Regions from separate parts of the Homo sapiens genome. Here region 1 is linked to region 2. Evidence: promoter capture Hi-C in 16 types of primary human blood cells and fetal thymus (Javierre and others, 2016). All regions are on one chromosome and are shown on one strand. Each heading gives the region's core, a stretch centred on a gene start or on the middle of the fragment in contact. The rest is flanking DNA. Distances are from core to core; before and after follow the strand shown. Region 1 has its middle 47 kb from the start of CARTPT. Region 2 holds the start of BDP1 (BDP1 general transcription factor IIIB subunit).

Region 1 (6,249 bases), core at 3,603-6,102, 310 kb after region 2:
AGTATAAATGCACAATCAAAAATCATGCATTTTGGATGTAATTATCCTTTTAACAACAAGACTAAATAAACAGTTGGCAGAAGCTAGGAAGTAGAATGTTCGAGGAGGAGAAGAAGGGTGGAGCTGCTAATATATTTCCCTCACATGATAGGGAGTTAAGAGATACCAGTGTGAACCAAGGGATAAAGATATAAATTTATAAAACAACATAAATGATTGGTTTGAAATAAACTTTAAATTGTACTGAACATTTAGTTAATTTTCCTCTGCTAAACAGTGGTAGGAAATTGTAGTAGGAAGATCAGATTAATTATAGACAAAATAAATAAATTAGATTTCCTCATTAAATCCAAATTATAGTATAAATTAAGTACTACCCTGCTATATGATAATTTTTTAATAGACACAAACAAAACCATGTCAATATTTCCAGTCACCAACAGAAAATGGAAGCAGTTTTGAGCAGGCATTTTAGCTTTCACTATTCTGAAATATGTTAGCTATAGACTCTGTTTGCTGAGTGTAGTGATGTTTGTAAAATTTTTAATATATAATCTTTAATACAATCATGTCTGAAAGTACAAAAGCAGAGTATTACATTTGCTAGTGAGAAAAGGCTGATGATTATGATGAAAATGAAAATCAAGATAATTTTACACATTCAAAACAATGATAAAATGACAAATTCCACATGTAAATATGAAATAAATTGTTCAATAAGAGACTGTTCCTCATGAACAAAGTCAATCATGCAAAATGTATAAAGTGCTGTGCTCATGCAATTGACAATAACGAACAGGAAATGAATAAGAGTCACAGATGAATTAGAAAATTTTAAGAGCTGTCATGTTAGAATATTGTCAATAACAAGACTGATGTGCTTCTCTGGAGTAGGCTCTTTAAAAAATTCCTTATAATAAGATATGTTGGTAATTAGGCCCTCAAAGGAAAAAAAAATCTCTGATTTGTAACATTTGCCAATTTCTATGGTGTAAATACTCCCAGCATGGCTGATTTCAAACAATGAGCCTGACCTCACTAAACTTGGAGCTGGGGAAAGATGTGTAATAGGTTCCAAAGCCAGCTTGAGCTGGCTGCCACATGACACTGGACTAAAGGATTTTCTAATATACTTCTTGTTCTCTGCACTGGACAATGGCAAATCACACCTAGATGCTATTCTACTGTTTTTTGGCTTTTATGGTGAGATAATTTTTTTCTAGGCATTGGCATACTTATGACTTCTGCTTATATGTTTTATGGGGTGGATACAACCAAGTGATTCCCTCAGAATGGGAGGGGCTCTGTCCTCTTCTCTTACTTCCCTGGGAAGAAATTATTGGCCATAGTGGCATTTGGGGCATCTAAGTGTAACTTTTACCTCATTTGAGGTGGATTTACTGGGAAATTCTTTTCCTCTTTATTTTTAAAATATATTCATTAAATCAGTAAGAAAGCATAATTTCTGGACTGAGATTTCTCATTGGAATTTGGCAAACATAAAATGACCTCATCTCTTGTTGAGTTTAGTATAATTTATTTTCGGAAAGATGGGTACTCAAGAGCAATAAATAAAAATCACAATGTTCTAATTCCCCATGTTTCCCAAGAAAAAGAAAAAAAGTCATTAAGATCCCCTAACAATGGCCGTGGGATCAGCATCAACACCAGATGCCTATTGACCTATTGTTAATTTCAGATAGGGCTAGGAGTTGGTTTGAGAGATTACAGATTAAACATGGCAGAGGGGCTGCTGCTGCAAATATTGTTGCAAACTCTGCATGCCTTGGATGGTTCCAAAGGCCCAAGCCTCACTGGAATCTGCTTAACATTAAATTAAGTCCCGAGGTGGGGAGAAGGAAGACCACGTGTCTTAGGCTGGCTTTCCCAGGTGCGGATACTGAAGTTCCTATGAGAAACCGGTGAGGAGCAGGGGAAGCAGGACAGGGAAGCGGAAGTGTGTGATTTCAGGTAAAGCCCTGCGGGAGGTAGCTTTGGCTTGATGTATCCGAGGAACCCTGGTGGGTAAGTTACCCTGAGAGTTTGATCAGACTCAGGCCAGGGAGCTGGGTTTCATATTCCAATACAAGTTGATCATTGTCTAAGGGCCAAACAAGGAGATGTAAATTCCCAAGTGTTCCTTGTTTTCTGCCTGTTGTGGCAAAGTGGCCTTGTAGCCTGATGGCAGTCCTCTAAAAGAGCCACAGGTATGGGCTGTTAGAAGTAAAGACACACGGAAGCTGGAGGAGTGCACACACACCACACACACAGATCCCAGGAGTTCTGGTTGGAACACGAAGGTGGTTTACACCGTGGTTGCTAAAAATTCTGTAGAATACTGTTGGAGATCATTGAGGCGGTGAGAAGGAGGTGGTGTGGATGACACCTGCCTGAGGAGATTTTCAATGTGGATGCAACAGTTTAATTTTAGAAGATGCCTGATAGAGTGTAGGTAAAGCAAAGAGAACAGCACAGCCAGTTTTAAAGCTTCGGGAGCCCTGCTCACACATGAGTGTGATGGCAATCCATCCAGGGACTGCAAGCTTGGACCCTTCTTGATTATGTTTTACTTACTGACACACATACTTACGAAGAGCTTCTGGAACTAAGTAGCTGCTTCTTTGTGAGTGGGAGGAGGCAGGATGAGCCTTAGAAGTTGCTCCTTAGGTCACCCCTAATATTTACAGGACCTGGGGCCGAGCGTTCAAGGTTAGATAAAATAAGTTCTAACACTTACTTTGACAAATACGCTTTCAAAATAGTCTGGAAGGCCAGGCTCAAATTTTGAATTTTCAAACTCCTTGGAGTTTCATGCTGAAATGTGGTGGCTAGGAGAAGGCTGGGCCCAAGCTCATTGGCCCCCACCTGAGCCCCCTTCCCTTTCCATCACTGTCTCCTTCATTGCAAGCATCTTTGAGTACATGTGTGTGGATGCCCCACCTGGAATGTCCAGAGCCTCTGCAAATAGCTGCCCTGGACATTCTTTGGGCTTGGGAGTGTAAATACCAGTGGTGTGGTTTACCCCTGGGAGGATGCACCTATGGACAAGGCCTGTACAGGTCCTGCAAGCAGGCTTGGGGTTGTTTGGGCAGAGAATTCAAGGCTCTTGAGCATCTAGGAAGTGGTCTAGAAGGGCTCTGGGTGGGCACATGCCCTTGGTCTTGCAGATTCCTCTTGCGGTAGAGACAGACATAATCCAAAAAAATGTCAGAGTGGGGCTTTCTAAAACACAAGGTCCAGGTACCGGGAGATACTGCCGAGCGGTGTGATTTTAAGTCACAGTGAAGCTTATCATGAAGAACTGGACCATGGAGGTAGGGAAAGATGCTACTTCACCAATAGGTCATTTCTCAAGATGACTATCTGGGAAATAAACTGTGAACAGGACACATTGGTCTATCCCTTAAAGACCTGAGTGGATTCTTTGATTCATACTGAAGTAGAGAGAGAATGGGGTCAATTGCAAATACCACCTGCCTGTTAGCTTTCAAGGAGTATGGATAGATTTTGCCTCATTTGAGAACGAGTAAACATCAGCAACACATGAGCCCAGTAAAAAAATACTGCAGAACAATGGATAAAGGACAGTACTCTGGAACCTCATAGAAAGATTCTATCTCTGAAGAGCCTATAGGAACAAGAAGAAAATTACAGGAGATTGTTTAGAATCTGCAATAATAGAATTCAATGAGGCATTGTGTTGTGAAACAGGAACATAACACCATGATGAGACAACAGGCTGAAAGAAGACAGCATGTTGAGATATGGAAGGCTTTCAAGTAAACCAAGAGCACAATAACATGATCAGTACCTAACTGTAAATCAGAATCAGTTATGTACTGAACAAATTTGAGAAGCTTTTCTAGGATGCAGAAAAAAATGCACAAGCAGAAGGAAAGAGAGAAAATGAAACCTCTAACATTTGATTACTTTGTGTTTCTAGGGAAGACAGCATAACACATGGAATAGAAGCAATCATAAAAGATGAAATAAAACCTAAGTTTGCAGGCTGCAGGGGTTCACTGCATTTCAGATGAAAACAGAAGAGATCCACATCTACATATATTCAAAGAAAAATTTTGAATTATACAGATTTTTAAAAAGTCCTATAAATCTATTTAGAAAAGATAATTTATCTGTCAATTGCAGGAATTATTGAGTAGTTTTTTCTCCTAAAAGCACTCTGATGCTATTTTGGGAAACTGACTCCTCTCTACTTGAGTCATTACAATGGAACCATAAGTCAAGATATTTTGTCCTTTCCTGCCAAGAAATGGGAATGCAACCTGAGACTGACAGGAGTGTCTCTCTGGAACTGAAACTTTAGCAGAGCAATAAAATGACAGAATATAGTTGTATCTGCTCATTCATCCTAGTTGCAATGCCATAATGTCTTTTATCACTTCTTACAAATTCTAGGATTGGCCCTTGTTTCTTTTTCAAACCTGTTGGGTTACCTTTTCTAGGTTCTAAGTTCCCCTATATTCTGCTTATAACTTCCACTTTTGCTCCAGTTGGCAAGATACCCTAAGAGAAAGGTAGATTTTTGAGGAGCGGGGAAACTGGCCAGAATGGGGAAAAGGGGGAAAATTCGCTTTCATATTGCGGGTTAGTATCCCAACAGTGTAAAACAACTGTTACGTTCCCTCTATGTGCGCCAGAAGGTGGTGCTCTGAAAAACTGAGTAGCTGATGGCAAAAAATAATTTAAACATTCTGGAACAACAGGGTAGGATGGCTGCTTCTGGTGGCATTGAATAACATAAAGTAAGAGAATAGCAAAATCAGATCTCTAAATTATCACATCAGGCTAATTTTCTGTGGCCTTTCTGTTTGGCTCTTCAAGACTCACAATTACTGATATAATCATGTTGCTGTGGGCATATTTCATATGACCTTCCTTCCTTATTTTATTAGTTTAGATAAGCTGTGAGTGCATTAGACCAGACGGTTTAGCTGTTGGCCATTTTAATGATAGTTTTTTTTTTTTTTTTTTTTTGAGACACTCTTGCTCTGTTGCCCAGGCTGGAGTGCAGTGGCATGATCTTGGCTCACTGCAACCTCTGCCTCCCAGGTTCAAGCAATTCTCATGCTTCAGCCTCCCAAGTAGCTGGAATTACAGGCGTATGCCACTGCGCCTGGTTAATTTTTGTATTTTTGGTAGAGACAGGGTTTCACCATGTTGGCCAGGGTAGTCTCAAACTCTTGACCTCAGATGATCCACCTGCCTTGGCCTCCCAAAGTGCTGGGATTACAGTGTGAGCCACTGCGCCCGGCCAGAGAGTTTATTTATTAATTTACTTTATTTATATTCTACACACACACACACACGGACACCCCTTTACACATACTCCTGGGAAAAATGCAGGGAGCAGAGCACACAATTATGGAGGTTTGAAAATACCTTCTTTTTTTCTTTTCTCTTTTTAGCTACACCTGCTGGAATGGGAGTATTTTTAAATACCTTCTAATGACACCAGCAAATAAACAAAAGTTGTGTTATCTTCACAATCACTATATGCTAGAAGGCTTAAAAAACTTCAGTATCTACAGAATTTGGAGGGAGACAAGTAAAGTTTAAAATAAGCAAAGTTGTCTTTTGTGTGTGATGGCAATAGAAAGTTATTCTTAGATGTGTATGGGCGCAGGAATCACACCATCCACGCTACCTTCTTGAAAAAACTGCTCCAGCCAACCAAGAGAAGCAAACTGGAGAGCTAAATAAGGGCAAGCATGGTCTGAAAGGACTTGTGGTTCTCACCTAAGCCTAATCCCAAACCTAACTGTAACCCTGCACTCAGGACCCCTGTGGAGTGTTTATTTTCAGGGGGATTTTGCAGGCAAAGGTGAAGCTTGGTCCAGCAGTGCTTCCTCAAGCTGCTTCCTCACCCTGCTGCTCATTTCCTGTACCAGGAAATGTGTCTCTCACCATACCTCCTTTGCTCCCTGGTGCAGCTAGAATTTAAAGCTTTGTTTGGTGAACATAGGCAATTTGTATTTTGTTTATGTATTTGCAAACAAAAGTAATCTGTACAGAGGGTAATGATTCAGTGCTGAGAAATAAATACATTTTCCCCTGATTCCACCAAGCAGGATGCTTAATGAAACATAATGAACTTTTTTATTGCCAAGCCGAGTAATGATTTTCTGAGTCTTTAAAACTTATATTGGAGGATTTTATCCTACAAAAATAAAAGAATTAGCTTATAAGGATATGTATAAAGATACACATTGAATGTGACAAAGCGAA
Region 2 (6,472 bases), core at 1,590-4,089:
GAAATTTTGCAGTTCTTAAGTTGTAGGGCTACACATGATATACCCCATGTACACAAAATGTGTTGTGTGTGTCTCTCAGAGAAAAGTAGAGATTTAAAAAATTCGTATGATGCCACTAAGAATTTACTCCACAAACTTGTGTAACAAATGTCTTATGACTTTATATTTAATAATAAAATTTAATCTGATTCTGTTCCCATCCCTTTACTGGTGGGAAATTAAATCTTAGTCACTATTTACTTTCTGACCTGTAAAAACTTGGGACAATGCCCTAGTCTCTTAAGTGGAACAGAAGACCATCTGGGGAAAGGCCCTGTGTCTTCAGTTGGTATCAGAATATGCTGTTCAAAGCTGTGTAGACCTGGCAGTGGCTCCAAGATTCCTGAGACATCTTTAGCAGGGTATTCTCTCGAATTCTTGAGCTTCTTTAAATAAAGAAGATAAAACTGAGATACTGTTCCTTTTCCAGAGTATTGCAGGGAGCCCACGGAATCCACAGACCTCCTCTTTTCTCTTCCTTCCTTCCTTCCTTTCTTTCTCTCTCTCTTTTTTTTTTTTTTTTTGAGACAGGGTCTCACTTTGTCACCCAGGCTGTAGTGCTGTGGTGTGATCTTGGCTCACTGCAACTTCCGCCTCCTGGGCTCAAGCAATCCTCCAACCTCAGCCTCCTGAGTAGCTGGGATTACAGGCAGAAGCCACCATGCTCAGCTAATTTTTGTAATTTTGGTAGAGATGAGGTTTCACCATGTTGGCTAGGCTGGTCTTAAACTCCTAGGCTCAAGTGATTCGCCTGCCTCAACCTCCCAAAGTGCTGGGATTACAGGCACGAGCTGTGCCTGGCCTCCAGACCTTCATTTTCTTCATAGTCTTAGAGATATATGTTTTCTCTTCTCTGCTTTCAGTCTTGCCTTCCTACTCTCAAAAGCACTTGCCTCTTTTTTGTTCTCCCTTTAGGTGATCAATTTCTTCAGTCAGTTCAGAATTTTATTCCTTTGACCTTTTGTTATTAATGTATCACCATATTCTTGTAGGATTTTCTTTTCCTTCTAAGAAGAAAGTCAGGCCTTTGTGTTCCCATGAGTCAGGGGATTTGTATCACTGGTTCAAACATTGGCCCAATACCTCCAAGGCCAACCTCAGCTCTGGCTATTTTTCCTCTCATCATAGAGGACTTCCCTAGCCACTCTACTGCCAGCCTCCCTCCCATTACTTTCTATCACATCATCCTGTACATTTCTCTCTTTTTTTTCTTCTTATTATTAAATTTTTGTTTTAAGGACAAGGTTTCACTTTGTCACCCATGCTGGAGGGCAGTGGCACTATCATAGCTCACTGCAGCCTGGACCTCCTGCCTCAGCCTTCCAGGTAGCTGGAGCTAGAGGTGGGAGCCATCACAGCCACCGCATGTAGGTAATTTGTTTTAGGGGTCTCAATATTTTGAGCAGGTTGGTCTGGAAGTCTTGGGCTCAAGAGATCCTCCCACTTCAGTCTCCACAGTAGCTGGGATTATAGGCGTGCCTCGCCATACCCGGCATTCAACCCTTAAATTTATTTCATGACATTTGATATACTTTATTTTATTGCAATTAATTAATTAATTCATTTATTTTAAGACAGAGTCTCACTCATTCTGTTGCCTAGGCTAGAGTGCAGTGGTGCCATCTTGGCTCCCGGCAGCCTCCACCTCCAGGGTTCAAGCCATTCTCCTGTCTCAGCCTCCCATAGCTGGGATTACAGGCTTGCACCACCAGGCCTGGCTCATTTTTGTATTTTTAGTAGAGATGGAGTTTAACCATGTTGGCCAGGCTGGTCTCGAACTCCTGACCTCAAGCAATCTGCCTTGCCTTAGCCTCCTAAAATGCTGGGATTACAGGCATGAGGCACCCACGCCGGGCCTGATACATTTTAAAAATATCTTGTTCATTTCTTTTTTGTATTTTCTCCTCCCAAATCCAGAACGTCTTGTTTACTGCTACCTCCTGAAGCAGATTAAGAACACTCACAATAATTTACAAGGTTTCAACTATAATAATTTTTAAACAGGCTGGAGTGTAGTGGTACGATCTCGGGTGATACATTCATATTAAAAAGTACACAAGGAGGTTGGGCGTGGTGGCTCACGTCTGTAATCCCAGCACTTTGGGAGGCCAAATGGGTGGCTCGCTTGAGCCTAGGAGTTCAAGATCAGCCTAAGCAACATGATGAACCCCGTCTCTACTAAATATACGAGAAAAAAAAAATTAGCCGGGTGTCGTGGCGCGTGCCTGTGGTCCCAGCAACTTGGGAGGCTGTGACGGGAGGATCGCCTGAGCCCGAGAGGTGGAGGCTGCAGTGAGCCAAGATCGCGCAACTGCACACTCCAGCCTAGGCGACAGAGCAAGACCCTGTCTCAAAGGACAAAAACAAAAAAGTACACAAAGGCGTACGGTAAATGGTCTTCCTACCACGACGTGTTTTCCAGAAACACATTCCTCTCCTGGGAGGTAACTATTATCAGTTTCTTCACACCAGCATTTTTAATCTATGTCTACTCAATTTAGAATTTCTAAACCCTTCAGGATCTTCAAAAGACAAAATCGGCCAGCGATTTTAATAGTTCCAGTAAAGGTTTGAGCAGAGAAGTGGACTTTCTTCTGTTCCTCTTTTCAACTACTCCTAAGGACTCCTGGAGAAGAAAGAGCAAATATCTCTGCATCTCAATTTCTGGTCCGCAGGTAACCCAGTCTCAGTAGCTTGGTAGTTACCATGGCTCCCAGTGCTGTGCGTCTGACGTCATTCTGCGGCGCTGGCTGATGGCGCAATCAGTTGCGGCGTCCTGTGAGCGCGGGGATGCTGGGAGGAGGGTGAAATTTAGCCATCGGTGTGTGGCAGGGTCATGAAAAAGCGGCGGCGGCGGGAGAGAGGAGGAGGCGGCGGCGGGGCAGTGAAACTACGGTAGCTGCCCCCTGAGCTGGTGGTGTGGCTTTGTGGGGAGGGCGTAGTTCCTAATCCCCTTTCCGGGCAGCCGCCGGGGCTCGGGGCTGTGAGCGGCCGTGAGGCTGCCTCCCCGGGCCCCCTGCCTCCGCCATGTTCCGCAGGGCACGCCTTAGCGTGAAGCCGAATGTCAGGCCTGGTGTAGGCGCCAGGGGCTCCACAGCTTCCAATCCCCAGCGTGGACGGGAGTCTCCCAGGCCGCCGGATCCTGCCACGGACTCTGCTTCCAAGCCCGCGGAGCCCACAGATGTGCCCACAGTCGATTTCGGTGGAGCGGAGCCCCAAGAAAAGGCTCCTAGGAGCAGGTAAGAGGTTGCAGAGGGAAGAATTTTCATTTGTCCCGCCTCTCCGGGCATGTCACCTGGAAGCTGAGCAAATGAATTTTATCACAGGAGTCCGCTCTCGTTTGCAGTAAGCCTTTCAGTTGAGGCTTGATGAAACCACTCCAAACTGCAGTTTAGTTGTCTGACCTGCAGGGTGTGGCTTGTGTGGATTTTGTCACGGTCTATAGATTCTCCGAGAGGAGACCATGTCTTCAAGTGGTGGTAGGGAGAATCGGGGTATGGCAGTCCTGAAGTGAAGAATATCCACACTATTCATTTGAGAATTTAGGTCACTATAGTTTTCATCCTTCTGGAGTGCTTTGCAGGGAAGTGTTTTTGTCTTTCAATTTATAAAATATTTATTTTTTAAAGGAGAAGATAAGTATTGCTTTGGCTTTACCGATTTATGTCAGTGAGTAAGAGTTCTGGTCACTTAATTGAAGTGTGCCTCTTTAACTATGGTGACCGTGTTTCCTGAATAGAGAAGCATGGCTTTAGCGTCATGTATCATATTTGGATTCAGGACTCTTTTAGTCTACAGGTAAACTTTTCTCAGGCAGAATTTGCTCATCTGCAAAATGGGAATAATATTGCCTACTTGGAGCGTTTTGGTGCAGATTGGAGATAATTCATATTAACTACCTTGCAGGGGATATAGCAGAATAGTTGCCCGCAAAAAGTTACTAGTTTTTTAGAAAGGTGATGGAGTAAATTTAAGACATGTTAGGCTAAGATGGTCTCTGTTTCTATATATATGAGGAAATCAGTAAACAGCCTTGTTAAGTGAAGTGAGATAGTACAAATTCTGTTTATGCTGTGATAGGAAGGTGAAACATTTATTTATTTTTGGAACATCTTCCTCTATTGGCCTGAACTGGTGCTGAGTGTATGGTGTTACGTTGATAGTTCAGTGATGGTTAGTAATTTCCAAGTTTATTACATGAATCTGTTTCAAAATTTCTACACAGAAAGGAGATACCGATACTAGTCGCTGTTACATTAATAAAGTTCTCAGAGATTTCGTTAATTATGTGTGAGTGCGTGATGGTTGATAATTTAATAAATTGCCCAAAGATTGTAGTTTTGAGATATTTATGGTCAAGGATATTTAATTTTTTTTTTTGAGTTGACATTTACGTTTGGGGAATATAATTTGTTTTTTAGTCACTTTTTTTGCCATTACTGACTCTGGGAAAGTGGTTTTTTTTTTTTTTTTTAATTAGTTTTTTTTTTAGATGGAGTCTTGCTCTGTCGCCCAGGCTGAAGTGCAGTGGTACGGCTCACTGCAACCTCCACCTCCCGGGTTCTTGCAATTCTCCTGTCTCAGGCTCCCAAGTATCTGGGACTACAGGCGTGCCCCACCACGCCCAACTAATTTTTGTATTTTCAGTAGAGACAGGGTTTCACCATGTTGGCCAGGCTGGACTCGAACTCCTGACCTCAAGTGATCCACCTGCCTCAGCCCAAAGTGCTGGGGTTACAGGTGTGAGCCACCGTGCCCAGCCTCTTTTTATTTTTTTGTGGGTCTTTGCTAGTTGTAAAACTCTATAGGATATATATTCTGTCATTATGCATTCAACATAATTGGGTGAAATGCAGATAATGCATGTATCCATAACAGCTAAGATACGAATTTAAATTGAAGTCTTCCTGGAAAGGTTATTCTATAAGTTAAGGCATTTTCTAATTTTTTATAAGTAATTATAAAATAGGAAAAAAGTAGACTGTTTTTAATTATTGACTTATACCACCTCTTTTCTTGACTTAAGTTGCATTTATAGACCATTCCTGAAATACTTATATCTGAGGTATACCATACCTAATATGCAATTTGGGGTGACTGAGTACTTTTTTTGACTGAAGTTTATTCTGATGGCTGTATAAGTAGAGTTGTACCTGACAAAAGATAAATGATTTCTGCCTCAAAGGGAATTGGGTTTGGCTACTGTAACTAAATGTTTTTCTTCAAATACTGCAATACAGATATTTCAGAGGTTTGGAGTTTTGCATATTTGATTTGACTGACCTCGGGTTGATAAGTAAAGTAAAATGCCGGTAGTTTAGACCAGTTTAAAATGTCAGAGTGAATTAAAATTTTTTTAAATTTTATATAGAAATTAATTATAAATTATTACTTTGTTACTTAGTAATTCAAATTAGGTTGACTAAGCTTTGTTCTGTAAGTTGGTTATTTGTTTTGAGGGGGGTAAGCCTATAATTATGTGCTGTAATGTGCCTAGGGACTTTATGTTTGAAAAAGATTAAGAGTCTATTAGAATTTACGTATATTTAAAAGATTTACTAAACAAATTTTTTTGTAACCTGTCATAATTATCATAAATCTCAAGTTACTAATTTTTTTTTTTTAATTACGAGATTGCAGTTTTGGATTTTCACCAGACTAGGTTTTAAAACTAGCATGTGTAACAGAAGATTCATGTGCCCTCTTTTTTCTTTTTTAATTTCAACAGTACTGAAAAGACTGGTGGTGACAATGATGTTGAAGAATCCAGTAGATCTTCCTCTACTGTTTCACAGAGAAGAAAGCGAATATCAAGTACTTCTAGCCTGGTTAAGTCTAGTGTCAGTGTTCCTTCAGAATCTCATCCCTTATCTACAATTAATCAAGAGGCTCCACAGCCAACTGCCACTTCAACAAAAGAGAAACAGCCATGCTCAGACAGATACCGAATATACAAAGCCCAGAAACTGAGGGAAATGTTAAAAGAAGAATTGAGAAAAGAGAAGGTAAGGGAGGAGAATCAGGATTTTGATGTTGCCTTCTATTTATGTTAGTAAGGAATCATTGGGAAGAAAAGCATTTGTAGCATTTTGATGGGGGAACAAAACCACATAACATCCCTTAGTCAATAGAACATCCCTTCTTGTTAATGGATTGATTGATACACCGTGGACTTAAATTACATTTTTCACTGATAGTAATTTTTACATTATTTATTTATGTTTTCACTGTTTTTGGTGAAGACCACAAATAAGTTTCATACGCATACACATAGATGCACATACACAAACATATTTATAAAATAAACCTTCAGTCTGATTTTTCACATAAAGATGTCCAAGTGATAAGTGATATATTTATTTGAATTAAGACAAGTATAGGCCGGGCGTGGTGGCTCATGCCTGTAATCCCAGCACTTTGGGAGGACTAGGGG

What was found. The method cuts DNA at HindIII sites, captures the fragments that hold promoters and counts their contacts. A CHiCAGO score of 5 or more calls a contact.
Region 1: a contact is called between a fragment that was not itself captured here and the fragment with the promoter of BDP1 in region 2, in 1 of 17 cell types (endothelial precursors). The highest score is 12.0, in endothelial precursors.

The regions. Positions count from the first base shown.
Region 1 is chr5:71,763,610-71,769,858 of GRCh38, forward strand. No RefSeq gene overlaps it. Among named protein-coding and RNA genes, the nearest start is that of CARTPT, 47 kb to the left of the region's middle. The HindIII fragment of the contact is 1,994 bases long and covers 3,856-5,849 here.
Region 2 is chr5:71,452,812-71,459,283 of GRCh38, forward strand. It overlaps BDP1 (BDP1 general transcription factor IIIB subunit), which reads left to right and starts at 2,840. Exons shown (of 39, transcript NM_018429.3): 1 at 2,840-3,278; 2 at 5,768-6,044. The coding sequence starts at 3,067. RefSeq lists enhancers at 1,775-2,701, 2,702-3,627. The HindIII fragment of the contact is 8,261 bases long and covers 1-5,464 here.